5 separate regions of the Homo sapiens genome follow, and regions 2, 3, 4 and 5 are each linked to region 1. Evidence: promoter capture Hi-C in 16 types of primary human blood cells and fetal thymus (Javierre and others, 2016). All regions are on one chromosome and are shown on one strand. Each heading gives the region's core, a stretch centred on a gene start or on the middle of the fragment in contact. The rest is flanking DNA. Distances are from core to core; before and after follow the strand shown.

Region 1 (2,700 bases), core at 141-2,640:
GGAAGAGGGCAAACTGGTCAAAGAAGGTGATGTGAATGCTGTGGGTGAGCAAGGACCTGGTGTAAGAGAACTGGGATTATAACAACTTAGGTTGAATTAAATGCAATGGGTTACAATTGAGTATATATAGAGAGACTGCTGAAGAGAATGAATGAGAAAGTGAGAAAGCTGAAGGTATCTGGTTGTAGGGCAGGCAGAAGGGTGGTCCTGGGATACCTGTAAGAAAAGATAATAATGCACAACCCTGCAATCAATGAGAGAGGAGTTCATAAGTAGCAGAAGTGTTTGGAGAATTAAGGTCTGGATGATAGCCCTTGCCCAAAAGTATGCAATTGCAGTTTTATGGTGGAAAGAATAGAATAAGATACAGAAGAGAGTCAGGCTGTTTCCTAAAGGAATAAGAAACATTGAGACAACCCCTCTCTCCCACCTCACCACTCTCCATGGAGAAAACTGAACTCACATTCAAACTGCAATTCATGGGCGTATCTACGAATTCCCTCAAATGACCGAATGGTGCGTATACGGAATAATGTTTCCAGTTCCTTCCACTCCTCATTGCTGAAGTTTCCCCTGGACCAGGGGCACAGGAAAACGATGGTGCTGGAATTGCTGTCCCAGGTATGAGTCTGCAAATCACTCAGCCAACCTGAGACCAGATTTTGTTTCCAGGAATGGTTGTAAAAGGATGCGATCCAGGTGACATGGAAGGAGAGAGGCTCCTTGAGCCCTGCGACAAAAGAACAGATAGAATGGGGAGAAAGACATTGAGAAAGAGGATGGAGAGAGAAAGGTGCCAGAGTGCGGGAACTCAGAATCTGGAGAAAAGGGGATCCATCATGATCTTAGCAGACATTCACTTGCCACACAGTCCCATGCCTTATCAACCACCTTCATAAGAGCTCAGGGACCTGGAGTCATGGATAGTCAGAATGGAACCAGCCTGGCACTCTCACTTTCCAGGTATATGCTAGGGAAACCACACACACACACACACACACACACACACACACACACACACACACACAGAGAGAGAGAGAGAGACCTTCACCCACCACCCAACTGGGCAGTTGTCAGAGTTCTTACCGTCTGCATTGCCATCACCTGGGAGAACAGCTAACAATGGAAGTAGCAAAAACAGCATATCATTTGCAGATGTTATTTCCTTCTCTCAGAAAAATTGGTCTTTGATTTCTGTTCCAAACAAACCTACCCCACGATATCTCTATTCTGACTTCTTTCTGCAGCCAACAGACAAACCTCCCCTGACTGCAACAAAGAAAATCCACTCCTTCAAAAACCCTGAGATGCCTACTCAGTCTCTCATTTCCCTCTGGTTCTGACTCTCCTCTCTGTTCCAGCTTCTCTCCTTGTCACCAACCTCCAACTTATTCACCTTCCCCTAATTCAACTGCTATGGAACAAGTCTGATGTGGCATTGAAAAGCCACTTAACCACTAAGGACATTTTTTTCTCAATCATACAATAAGAGCATAAAGTGAAATGGCTCCCAGTGTGCTGCCCAATGCTCCCATGTCCCTGCTCTTTTTGATCACTCTGTCCTTTTCAATATTTTCCCATGTATTCTCTTCCCCTGTCTCTTCAGCCCCTTACTACATTCACATTTCTGATTTAACATTGATTTATTTGCTTTTTCAGAGTCTCCTACGACTGCCCTGTGCGACAGTACAAACTAACACCTTTTCTCCATTATTCTTAGAGAAGAGCCAGTAACCATCACAAAAAAAAAAAAAAAAAAAAAAAAAAAAAAAAAAAAAAAAACCACAGGAACACTAAAACATATAAAGAAAATTTCCTCTGTTTGATTTTCATTGATATACATTCACTCACCCAACAGTCTCTCTTAGCACCTGCCTGGAGTCAAGCATCTTGGTACACTTAAGAATATGCAGTGGTTGACAACACAATCACTTTACTGAAGGAGCTTTTTCTCTACTTAGGGAGAAAAACACGCCATGAAATATAAATCTTGGTGTACTGAGTTTTATTATACTGTATACACTCTCTGGATAAAAACAAGGCCTGCTTGAAATAATATTTTCTAAAATGGGGGCTCCTAACTAATGTACGCCAGCCCAGAATTTTGACTTCAATGTTTGACTTGGAGTGTTAGTTCCATACAGTTATCATACTGTATCCCCACCTAACAGAGTATCTCACAAGTGGTAGGTGCTTAGTGAATATTTGTCAAATGAATGAATGAATTCAGTCTATGCATCCATTTTTTAATTATGGAGGTGATATTCAACATGAAACTTTTTAAAGATATCATAAAAGTTACTTGTAACCCTATGTAGTGAGATGAGAATCTCATACAGTTTTATTTAGGATAAAAGTACAAGTTACTGGCATGAGATTTACATAAAAGATCCTGCTATAAATGTCCTATTACTTATAAGAAACTAGTCAGAACTTGTGAGCAGTGAAGTTAATGGAGTATTCCAAAGTCTTTATCCCAGGATCCCTTTTTATTAGTCCTATTTGGATGTTTCAGGGTTGTTTTGTTATAAATGAGTCTTTGCCGGACACATTTACATTCCTCTTTTACGCTGCTTGTAACTGTTGAAGGGCTTCTAAATATATGTTTGTGCTTTGTAGATATCATCCATATAAATGTGTCTGGGCTATTTACTATTTTTTGGTTTTCAAAAAAAAAGTATCTGAAGCTAATTTAGGGGG
Region 2 (2,700 bases), core at 141-2,640, 250 kb before region 1:
GTGGCCTGGCTGCTTCTAACAACCTAACTCAGATGTGGGCACAAAGGAATACCTTAAAGCTGAAACTTATATTTAAAAGGAAAGTAGAGAATAAAAGTTTGAGAAATCTGCAGCCTGGCAATGTGGCAAAGGAAGAAAAAGCTCTTGAGGGGAGAAGAATTCAAGCAGGTTGTGGAACAACCACTTTACTAAAGAAATTTGCATACTTAAGTGGGTCAGGCGTGGTGGCTCACGCCTGTAATCCCAGCACTTTGGGAGGCTGAGGTGGACGGATCACAAGGTCAGTAGATCGAGACTGTCCTGGCTAACATGGTGAAACCCCATCTCTACTAAAAATACAAAAAAAAAATTAGCTGGGTGCGGTGGTGGGCGCCTGTAGTCCCAGCTACTCTGGCTGAGGCGGGAGAATGGCGTGAACCTGGGAGGCATAGCTTGCAGTGAGCCGAGATCATGCCACTGCACTCCAGCCTGGGTGACAGAGCAAGACTCCATCTCAAAAAAAAAAAAAAAAAAAGAAAAAAAAAGAAATTTGCATACCTATGAAGGAGCCAAGTGCTGATAGTCAAGACAATGGGGGAAAAGCCTTGAAGGCATCTCAGAGACCTCTGTGGCAGCCCCTTCCATTAAAGGCCCAGAATCCCTACTGCCACACACACAGCTTCATGACACTGCTCCCTGCATCCTGCTGCTCCAGCTTCAACTGGGGCTCAAAGGGGCCCAGGTACTGCTCAACATGCTACTTTGGAGAGTTCAAGCCACTGTAAGCCTTGGCAATTTGCACATGATTTTAAGCCTGTAGGCACACAGAGTTCAGAGTGAATGAGAATTTGCACCATCTGCCTAGATTTCAGAGGACATATGGAAAAGCCTGAGTGCCCAGACAGAGGCCTGCTGCAGGGGTGGGGAACCCCACAGGGAACCTCTACTATGGCAATGCAGAGGGGAAATGTGGGTTTGCCCCCCGCCCCAGAGTTCCCACTGGGGCACTGCCTAGTGGAGCTGTGAGAAGGGGACCGCCATCCTCCAGACCCCAGAAAGGAAGATCCACTGTCAGCTTGCCCTCTGCACCTGGAAAAGCCAAGAACACTCAACACCAACCCGTGGAAACAGCCATGGGTATTCAACCCTGCAAAGCCATAGGGATACAGCTGCCCTAAGCCTTGAGAGCCATGACTGACACCTCTCTGAGGAGCTTGCAGCAGTGTGACCTGGATGTAGAATATGGAGTCAAAGGATATTATTTTGGAGCTTTAAGATTTAATGACTGCCCTCCTGGCTTTAGGACTTGCTTGGGGCCTATAGCCCCTATTTTTTTGGCCAATTTCTTTCTTTTAGGATAGCAACGTTTACCCAATACCTGTATCCCTATTGTATCTTGGAAGTAAATAACTTGGTTTTGATTTTATAGGTTCATGAATGAAAGGGACTTTCCTTGTCAAAGATGAGACTCTGGACTTCGGACTTGTGAGTTAACACTGGAACAAGTTAAAACTTTGGAGGACTCTTAGGAAGGCATAAATATATTTTGCAATGTGAGAAGGACATAGATTTGGGAGGAGCCGGAGAAATATTGATATAGTTTGGATATTTGTCCCCACACAAATCTTACGTTGAATTGTAATCACCAGTGCTGAAGGTGGGAGGTGTTTCGGTCATGGGGGTGAACTTCGCATGACTTGGTCTATTTTTATGATAGTGAGTAAGTTCTCACAAGATCTTGCCATTTCAAAATTTGCAGCACCTTCCCCCAACTCTCTCTCTCCTGTTCTGGTCATGTGATGTGCCCGCTCCTGCTTCACCTTCCACCATGATTGAAAGTTCCCTGAGCCTTCACCAGAAGCCAAGTGGATGCCAGCACCATGCTTCCTGTAAATTCTGCAAATCATGAGCCAACAAAACCACTTTTCTTTATAAATTACCCAATCTCAGGTATTTCTTTATAGCAATGCAAGAATGGCATAATATATGATTACAGTTACCAATACCTTTTGATCAGGGGGTGGATTCATGTTAAATGTTCTTATCACACACAAAAAAAGTCAGTGTTGACCTAGTTGAAAAACTAGCTTATTTGTGACTCATGCTATATTAAAAAACAACTACTGAATAAATCAAGAGTGCTATTGTTTTTTCTGAGTGAAATTGTAATTGACCTATGTAACCCTTGTTTCAAATGTCCTTGTTAGAATTTTCAGAAAAATTTTAGTGGAGTATATTTTATAAACATCTCCTGACATTAACATAATTCTAGGGCTCATAGGGATGAATAAATCTAAATTCTGTCAAAATTTTAAAAAGAAAGAAAATTAAGAATGTAATTGCCTTTTAGCTCCAAATCTACCTTTACTTGTCCTGATTGTGTTACTGGAATGTTTCTCCTTTACCAGCAGACATGATGTTAAGCTCTTCTGTAGAAGGCGTGAAGGGACACTGAAGTTAAAACGGAGTTCTCTTCCCATTTCTGGCTGCTTTCATCTGCCTGGACATGCTGTGTGTGTGAAGTCTAGTAACAAGTAGGACGCCCAGTAGTGCTACTTCCCAGGCAGTACCATCATCAAAGGTATTTTGCCAGAAGGTTGCAAACAGAAGCATCCTCCCATAGATGCCCCCCACCCACAGAGTACTTCAGAGAGTGGTTTTCCAGCAAGTTCTAAAGTATAGCTCTTCCTTATGGATGGCTTCCCATGAGGACTAAGAGGG
Region 3 (2,700 bases), core at 185-2,684, 230 kb before region 1:
CAGCCCTTGGAGAATCTATATGGTAAAAAACCAAGGCTCCTGGCCAATAGCCCCAGCTGAGCAAACAACCAATAGCTAACACGAATAAAACAGGCACATAAGTGAGCAATCTTGAAAGTAAATCCTTCAGCCCCAATTGAATCATCCAACCTGCTGGGACAAAGAACAAATTCCAGCTGTCCCCACTGAGCCCTGCCAAAATTGCAGACTTGTGTGCAAAATAATTACAGCTCATTTAAGCAACTAAAGTTGTAGAGAGTTGATTATGCAGCAGTAAATAATGAGAACAGAATTTGGTATCTAAAGGCAGGGTGCTGTTATAATCAACATTTAAAACATTTGGCATTAATTTTGCAATTGGTGGTATAAATAATCCATAAGGACTTAAGGAGTCTCTTACTAAAAGGTGAAAGGATCATAAGGCAACTCTTGGTAAAGCTTTGAAGCACAGAGAGAAAAATATTTGAAGGACAGAGAGGAAACTGTTATCATACTTAGGTAAAACATGGATACTTATTATCCATTGCTCTAAAGTTTGGCAGCAGGACCACATGCTACAGCCTGGAAAATAGACTATTTAGTAATCTCATTATCTTCCTGGGTAAATTTCTAGGAAGACTATAGAAAATTCCAACCAATGATAAAATATGAAAAGAGAGTAGACAGCAGGATACTAGAGGAAGGGAATAGTAGAGAAAAGGGAAGGATAGGTGGAGATTTGCTAAAGGATACAAAATTACAGCTAGATAAAGGAATAAGTTACAGTGTTCTTTGCTACTGTAGGATGACTATAGTTAACAGTAATGTATAGATTCAAATTGCCAGAAGGAGGGTGTTGAACATTCCCAACATGAAGAAATGATAAATGTTTGAGATGATGATATGCTAATTACCTTGATCTGATCCCTATAACATTATTTATATCAGAATATTACTATGCACCTAAGGAATATGAACAATGACTATTTGTCAATTTAAAAGTACATAATTTTTTAAAGTTTCTTAAGTTTCTGAGAATTTAGAGGAAACAGAAAGAAACAAAACTTGTTGGGTTTGCAAATAAAGATGTTTCTCATGCACAGTCTCTCTCAACAAAGACTCTCAAGGTACAAAATGGCTTCAAGGAAGAAATCAAATCCAAGGTGCTATCAGGAAACCAATGCCTCAGGGTAAACCTCTTAAGAATGTAGCTGTAATACTTTTTGTTAGAACTCAGAAATATTTTAGGCTATACCCAACAAGATTTATAAATATCCTAAGGGCCTGACTCCTTAAAGTTAAGCAATAAGTCTTTTTAAGAATCTTAAGGGAATTGCCATACAGCAGTTATTAATACTGCTACCTCACAAGTGACCCATAATAAAGAAATGAATATGGATGTGACTTTTATCTAATGGAATTAATTTATAAACTGAAACATAAGAAACTCACCAAGTTTTAAAAAGGCATTCTATCAACATGTGCTAAAGGCTACAGAGCAAACAGAAATGAATAGACCTTTGGACCCTCAACTTCTTCCATGGAGGTATCAGACTAAGAAATGACATGTCTGCAAATTGTAGCTATGTCTTGCAGATAAAAAAGGATGATCAGAAAGTGGGGAAATGGCATCACAGGTTAGATCTAAGAGTCATGGAATTCATTCCCAGAAAATAGGACTGGCAACAGTGTCCAGATGAATTTCAGAATTTCTATGGACCAATGACTGTGATGTGTCTAATTTCCTCCTTTTTCACAAGGGAATGTCCATTGCTATTCCTATGCCCATCACATCATTGTCTTTTTGGGTGTCAGGAGCAGACAACCTGCTGGTATTATGCCTTAAAAGACTAGCAGCTTCCTCTTTCTGTTTCTTGGAATGTTTAGTCTTTGAAACCAGTCATGATGTTGTGAGAAAGTTTATAGAACCCCATGAAAAGGGCCACATGGAGAGATACTGACTCTCACAACCTATAGCCCTGACTCAGCTCCACTACAAATCAGCATCATTTTGCCAGCCGTGTAAATGAGCCAAATGGAAGTGGGTCCCTCAATTCTAGTTGAGCAGCTCAGTTGACATTGTATGGAGTTAAGACAAGCCAATCTTATAAGCCCTCTCCCATTTAAGAGATTAATGAGCAAAATAAATTATCATTGTCATTGTTATTTTTAATTACTGTTATGGGGGACATAAATATTGCTACACTTTCACATGTAGTTTCAGATGTTTTTCTTAGCTAGACCAAGAAGTCATTTATTCAATTAAAGTTAAGAGACATGTATTAGTTATCTCCTGAATGTCAGGGATATAAAAGACATTTAGGAGGAGTTAATGTATCGGTATAATAAATTACTTCCTTTCACGTTGTTGATTGTCCATTAGAGAAAATAAGATATGTACATAATCAGCTCAATATGTCAGAGCTCAGTAAGAAGTATAAGTAAAGCTTACAATGCTATGGTGTTTTGAAGAATGGAAATCAGGTAATACTTCATGAAACAGGTGAAAATAAAAAAAACTTTGATGGTAGACATTGGACAAAGAAGGAGATAATCTTTTCAAATAAGACCTTTTTTGATTCTTAGGCCGGTACAGGACCATTCTCCATAGGATCCCACTTTATAAGCTGTAAGTAAAGAAATGTGGTGCACAGAATGGCAAATTTATGTTTATCTTCTACTGCCTTTTTAATTAATGATGGCTATAGTATGATGATGGCA
Region 4 (2,700 bases), core at 48-2,547, 160 kb before region 1:
CCATTTCCATGCTTCTAGTGTATTAATGAAATACGATCATTTCTAATTTTGTATGCAGAGGCATACATCTAAATTTGGTCAGCATACCCTGAAGATATTCACAGGGGAATGGATTAATGACAAGACCTAAAATCACCCTAAATGACCAGGCAAGGCAAGCTAAAGATTAAGTCAATTTCACTAAATATTCACCAAGTGGAAAGCTTTGCATATGGAACAATCAATCTGTTCTCCATGCAACTCAAGAGTTTGCATGTACATTTGAGACCAGAACTTGAATTTGATGTTTTCATTCTCTGTCCTTTCTGCAGGAGTGATAGCAAAAAGGAAGTTTCACAATAGTGATGATTTCTCACATTATAACTCTTTTCAAGATCCACCTGTCAATAAAAGTCTCCTGATTGATTAATTTTGTTTCTAAGTTTTTTCCTTTTCTTCCACCAGTCTGTTCATCAATGACATATACCTTTTAGGGGTTGAAGCGGGAGGGAAGGAAGTGGAATGTTTTGTTCACAGGCCCTGTTTATTGTAGGACATCTGCCAAGAATGTAAGTCAATTGCATTTCTTCCATTTCTTTGAAGCTTGAAACTTGCTGCTGATGGGGGTTGAAAATCAGAGATTGATGCAAAATTAATTTCAGTGGCCCCCAAGTTGTCTTTTCCTTGGCCATATTGCCCACCCCAGGCCTCTAGCATATCAAGTTGATTCATGAAAAGTAAATGAGCTAAGTTTAATGTGTTAATTATTTATAGCTGCATTGTGTGCTACAGTTTAACAATGTTACTTCATCTAAACTTTAGAGCACACTGGGAAGTATATATTATAATCGACATTTTGTAGATGAGAAAAATGACACTCAGACAAATAAAATGACTTGCCTACTAATGAGTAAAAGAATTAATACTGAGTCCACACGATATATTTTCTTTATTAATGCTTTTATAATGCTCTCACATGACCTCTTGAAAAGACTGTGATTTTTTTAATTAATGGAGTAGAATGTGTAAGTATTCACCTTTAACAATAGAAGATTAAGCCATGGGTCATCTGTGGGAAGATATACTCTTGATGTTAAATAGTCTTTTAAACCTTGTTTCTTTCCAAGAGCTGTGGATACTATTATTTTGGTGTCTGACACCACAACACTGACAAGTGGGCAGGACCACTTTGTGTTAAAAGGTCATGAATATAAAAAATGACTCTCCTGGCATTTTATCCTTCCTCTTATTTTTTCCATGTGAATGAAAAATTAAGTTGACATTGGCCTGCACTCCCATGTGTTAAAACTGAACATCTTGCTCTCTCTGTTCCTCTTTTCACACATGTGCATACACACATATCTCTATTGTCCAGTCATATGTAATTTGCAGGAGAGGGGTAAGATTTTTAGATTTGTAGTTGGCCTTAGCAAGAGAGTAAAGTCCCTTAGGCCTTCTAACTAGGCCACATATGCCTGTTTAGCTTACAGAGAAATCTGCACTTGAATTTTAAGCATAAACTCAACCAATAATAATAAATTGATGTTTTGAATTCCCATTCATCATAGTCTATTATGTATATATGTTTTTGAATACATTATAGGGAAAAGAAAAGGTTATACCAAGTTAGGATTATGGAATTTCTGTTACCTTGGCCACAAAAAATTATAATAGCACTAAAACTAGATTTGTAGCCTATGAGGCTGGCTTTGGACTGATTTTCTAAGACATCCTTTAACATTGAACAGATCGATGACAATTGAAATCATAAGACAGCTCTCACCAAGTGCCAGGACAAGTACACATTTACACTAACAGAAGGCAACCCACATAATAGCTGTTTTCAGTGCCCCATATAAACCAATATCCAACCCCTCAGGTAAATTTTTATTTTCAAAAAAACATTTAGCGAAGAATCACATTCCACTCCAACTATCACCTTTAGATATCTCTTCCCAAATCTCTCCCCTAGATTGCCAGCCTCCTACTCCTTCAATTGATCCTACTTTCTCTTCCTCAAACCAAAAGCTTTTTTTAAAATAGATTCAACAGGCACATGTGCAGGTTTGTTATATAGATATATTGTGTGATGCTGAGGTTTGGGCTTCTAGTGTACTCATCACCCAAACAGTGAACATTGTACCCGATAGATAATTTTTCAGCACTAACCTCCCTCTCACCCTCCCTCATTTGGGGTCCTCAGTGTCTGCCATTTCCATCTTTATGTCCATGCGTACCCACTGTTTAGCTCCCACTTGTGAGAACATGTGCCAATCCTGAATCTCTACCAGAGTACCACTTCCGTTACTCACTCCATCTTATGCTGAGCATTCCGTTTCTCCCACATATCATGGAAGTCTAAAGTGCTTACCCACACTCAATATTCAATGTTATATTCTGTTATGTCCGAGGCTCTAACTCTCAAGGGTAAGCCAATAAAACAAAAGTAATGGCAATTATTTCAAACAGAACTGGTTTAATATAGGGAATTGCTTACACGAATGTGAAAATTTGTAAAAGCAAAAAGGGATGCTAGGGCAACACATTTGTATAATTAAGGAAAATGGCTACTCTGCTTAGACTTGCAATGGATGGAGAAAATGTGGTGTTAATAGAAACCAGGAGTTCAGAGAAGAAACCTTGGAGGTCCAATGCTAGAACCTTCCAGGAGTGGGAGTGGCCTGACAGTTGATTAAGTGATCTATTGGGTATACCCAGTGG
Region 5 (2,700 bases), core at 85-2,584, 180 kb before region 1:
GACAAACAAATGGCCAAAAGGTATATGAAATGGTGTTCAACATGACTAATCAGGGAAATGCAGATGACCACAATGATATGTTACCTCACGCCTGTTAGAATGGCTATTGTCAAAAAATCAAAAGATAACAAGTGTTGGAAAGAATGCAAAAAAAAGGGAACCCCTGTATATTGTTAGTGGCAAAGTAAATTGGTATAGCCATTAAAGAAAACAGTATAGAATGTCCTCAAAAAATTAAAAATAAAACCACCATATGATGTAGCAGTACCACTTCTGAGTATATATCCAATGAAAATAAAATCACTATCTCAAAGAGAGATCGGAATTCCCATGTTCATTGCAACATTATTTACAATAGTTAAGATATGAAACAATGAAATGTCCTTCAATAGACAAAGGGCTAAAGTAGATGTGGTATATACTTTTATACAATAGAATACCATTCAGCCTTTAAAAAGAAGGAAATTCTGCCATTTACAACAACGTGGATGAACCTAGAGGACATTTTGCTAAGTACAATAAATCAAGCAAAGAAAGATAAATACTGCATGATCTAACTTATATGTGGAATCTAAAATATTCAAACTTATAAGAGCAGAGTAGAAGGGTGGTTGCTAGAGGCAAGGAGGTGGGGGAAATGAGAACATTTTGGTCAAAAGTTACGAACTTTCAGTTATAAGATACATAAGCTTTAGATATTTTAATGTACAGAATGTTGACTACGGTCAATAATGTATTTTATACTTGAAAAGTTGTTGACAGTAAGTATTCTCACCACACACACATGAAAAAAAGGTAACTATGTGAGGTGACAGGTATATTGATTAGTTTGATTGTACCAATTATTGAAAAATGTATTTGTATATCAAAACTTCACATTGGATATGAAATATATATATATATAATTTCTGTCAATTGTACCTTAATAAATACATAAACAGTACAGAGATACAAAAACAAAATTACATGAGAATAGGCAGATAAATATAAGAATTAAAAATGAAATGTATTTACATGATTGCCTTATACAAAGCTGGTAATACAAAAATAAATTCTATTTCTGTATGTCAGCAGAAAGAATTACTATGCCTAGGAATACGAAATATGAAAATACAAGAAGTCAAAGAGTACAGAAGTAATCTTTTGTTTAAAAAGTCAAAGAGAACAAAAGTCTAAGTCAAATACCACATGTTCTTACTTATAAGTGACAGCTAAACAATAGGTAAACATGTTCATCAAAAGACATCTTCAACTGAGTGAAAATGAAATTTACAAAGTCACACAAAATATTTGAAGTACATGTAATCAATAAAGTATTGATATCATATAAAATATTTTGGATCAATAATAAAAATGAATATCCCTATAGTGCACAAAATATCAAACAAGACTTTCAAGAAAGAGGAAATTCAGGTGGCTGGTAAACATGAAAATGTGCTCAATGTCACTAATATCATGAAAAGGAAAGTCTAATTACACATACTCATCAGAATTTCTCAAATAAAAATGAGTTGCAATAGCAAATGTTACAGATGAGAAGCAACTGGAATTTCCATACAATGCTGGCATGAGTGTAAATTTATACAGCCACTTTGAAAAACTATTTGGCAGAGAATAGTATACTAGAACATGTATATACTTTTATTTACCTTTTGCTGTGTAACACACCACTTCCAAACACAAGTTAAAGTCCTTGCTTGCCTTTTTGTGGCTGTTCTATTTCACTTAGGAAAAGAGAAGTTGTTTAATAGGTGCAGAGTTTCTGATTTGCAAGATGAACAAGTTCTGGAGATCTATTTTACAGTAATAGGAATATACTTGACACTACTGAACTTTACACTTAAAATGGTTGAGTTGGTGAATTTTACGTTATTTGGTTTTTAACCACATTTTTAAATTTTTTTTATTTGCTTTTGTGTCTGCAAGTCAATTTAGAGATCTAAGCTGGGCTTAGAATAGCGGCTCTCCTTCAAGCTTCATGTCACTTGGGTTTGACTCCTTTTGGTAGATTGGGGTTAGATTTGCATCAGATATATTCATCCTAGAGCTCAGGTTAAAAGAACAGAAGCTACTTGGGAAAAAACTCTTTTCATGGTGATGGCAGAAAACTTGCAATGTTTCTTTTGGCCAAGGTTTGAAACTGGCTATGACTTCTGCCCACATTTCATTGGTTAATATAAATCCCATAAAAGCCCAAAGTTTAGGGTTAGGAAGTTACATTCTGCCTCTCATAAGAGAAACTGCAAAGTCATATAGCAAATGACATAGAAAGGAATAAAGAATTGTGGCTAAAAATTTAATCTACAGCAATATGCTGTGACTCAGTGGTTTCACTGTTAGTGGATACCAAATAAATTGAGTGATATGTTACTTAAAGCGTACAAGTATGTTCCCAGCACTGCTTTCCACTATAGCCCAAACCTGGAAATAACCTAAATATCCATCAATGGTAGAACAAATAAATTGAAGTACACTCATATAATTTATTTTTGTGCAACAGTGAAATTTTACTATTATATTTACTAATATGGGTAAATCTCACAAACATTATTTAAGTGAAAGAAAACTAAACAAAAATCTTATATACTCTGTAATTCCACCCTGATAAATTTCAAAAACTGGAAAAACAAACATATGACCATAGAAGTTCAGAATAATGGTTTCTCAGGCAAGAAAGTGGGTAATGTTCTACTTCTAAAT

The links. The method cuts DNA at HindIII sites, captures the fragments that hold promoters and counts their contacts. A CHiCAGO score of 5 or more calls a contact.
Region 2: a fragment that was not itself captured here is called in contact with the fragment with the promoter of CD1A in region 1 in 1 of 17 cell types (fetal thymus); the score reaches 10.7 in fetal thymus.
Region 3: a fragment that was not itself captured here is called in contact with the fragment with the promoter of CD1A in region 1 in 2 of 17 cell types (fetal thymus and M2 macrophages); the score reaches 17.7 in fetal thymus.
Region 4: a fragment that was not itself captured here is called in contact with the fragment with the promoter of CD1A in region 1 in 1 of 17 cell types (fetal thymus); the score reaches 5.3 in fetal thymus.
Region 5: a fragment that was not itself captured here is called in contact with the fragment with the promoter of CD1A in region 1 in 1 of 17 cell types (fetal thymus); the score reaches 5.7 in fetal thymus.

What each region holds. Positions count from the first base shown.
Region 1 is chr1:158,253,114-158,255,813 of GRCh38, reverse strand. It overlaps CD1A (CD1a molecule), which reads right to left and starts at 1,390. Exons shown (of 6, transcript NM_001763.3): 1 at 1,087-1,390; 2 at 464-730. The coding sequence starts at 1,144. The HindIII fragment of the contact is 5,152 bases long and covers 1-2,700 here.
Region 2 is chr1:158,499,716-158,502,415 of GRCh38, reverse strand. No RefSeq gene overlaps it. Among named protein-coding and RNA genes, the nearest start is that of OR10R2, 29 kb to the right of the region's middle. The HindIII fragment of the contact is 6,418 bases long and covers 1-2,700 here.
Region 3 is chr1:158,483,041-158,485,740 of GRCh38, reverse strand. All of the region lies in intron 2 of LOC107985213 (a long non-coding RNA gene), which reads left to right. Among named protein-coding and RNA genes, the nearest start is that of OR10R2, 12 kb to the right of the region's middle. The HindIII fragment of the contact is 1,988 bases long and covers 441-2,428 here.
Region 4 is chr1:158,416,400-158,419,099 of GRCh38, reverse strand. OR10K2 (olfactory receptor family 10 subfamily K member 2) reads left to right here. Exons shown (of 2, transcript NM_001004476.2): 2 at 1-890. Among named protein-coding and RNA genes, the nearest start is that of OR10K2, 8.5 kb to the left of the region's middle. The HindIII fragment of the contact is 1,425 bases long and covers 585-2,009 here.
Region 5 is chr1:158,435,944-158,438,643 of GRCh38, reverse strand. No RefSeq gene overlaps it. Among named protein-coding and RNA genes, the nearest start is that of OR10K2, 11 kb to the right of the region's middle. The HindIII fragment of the contact is 1,285 bases long and covers 692-1,976 here.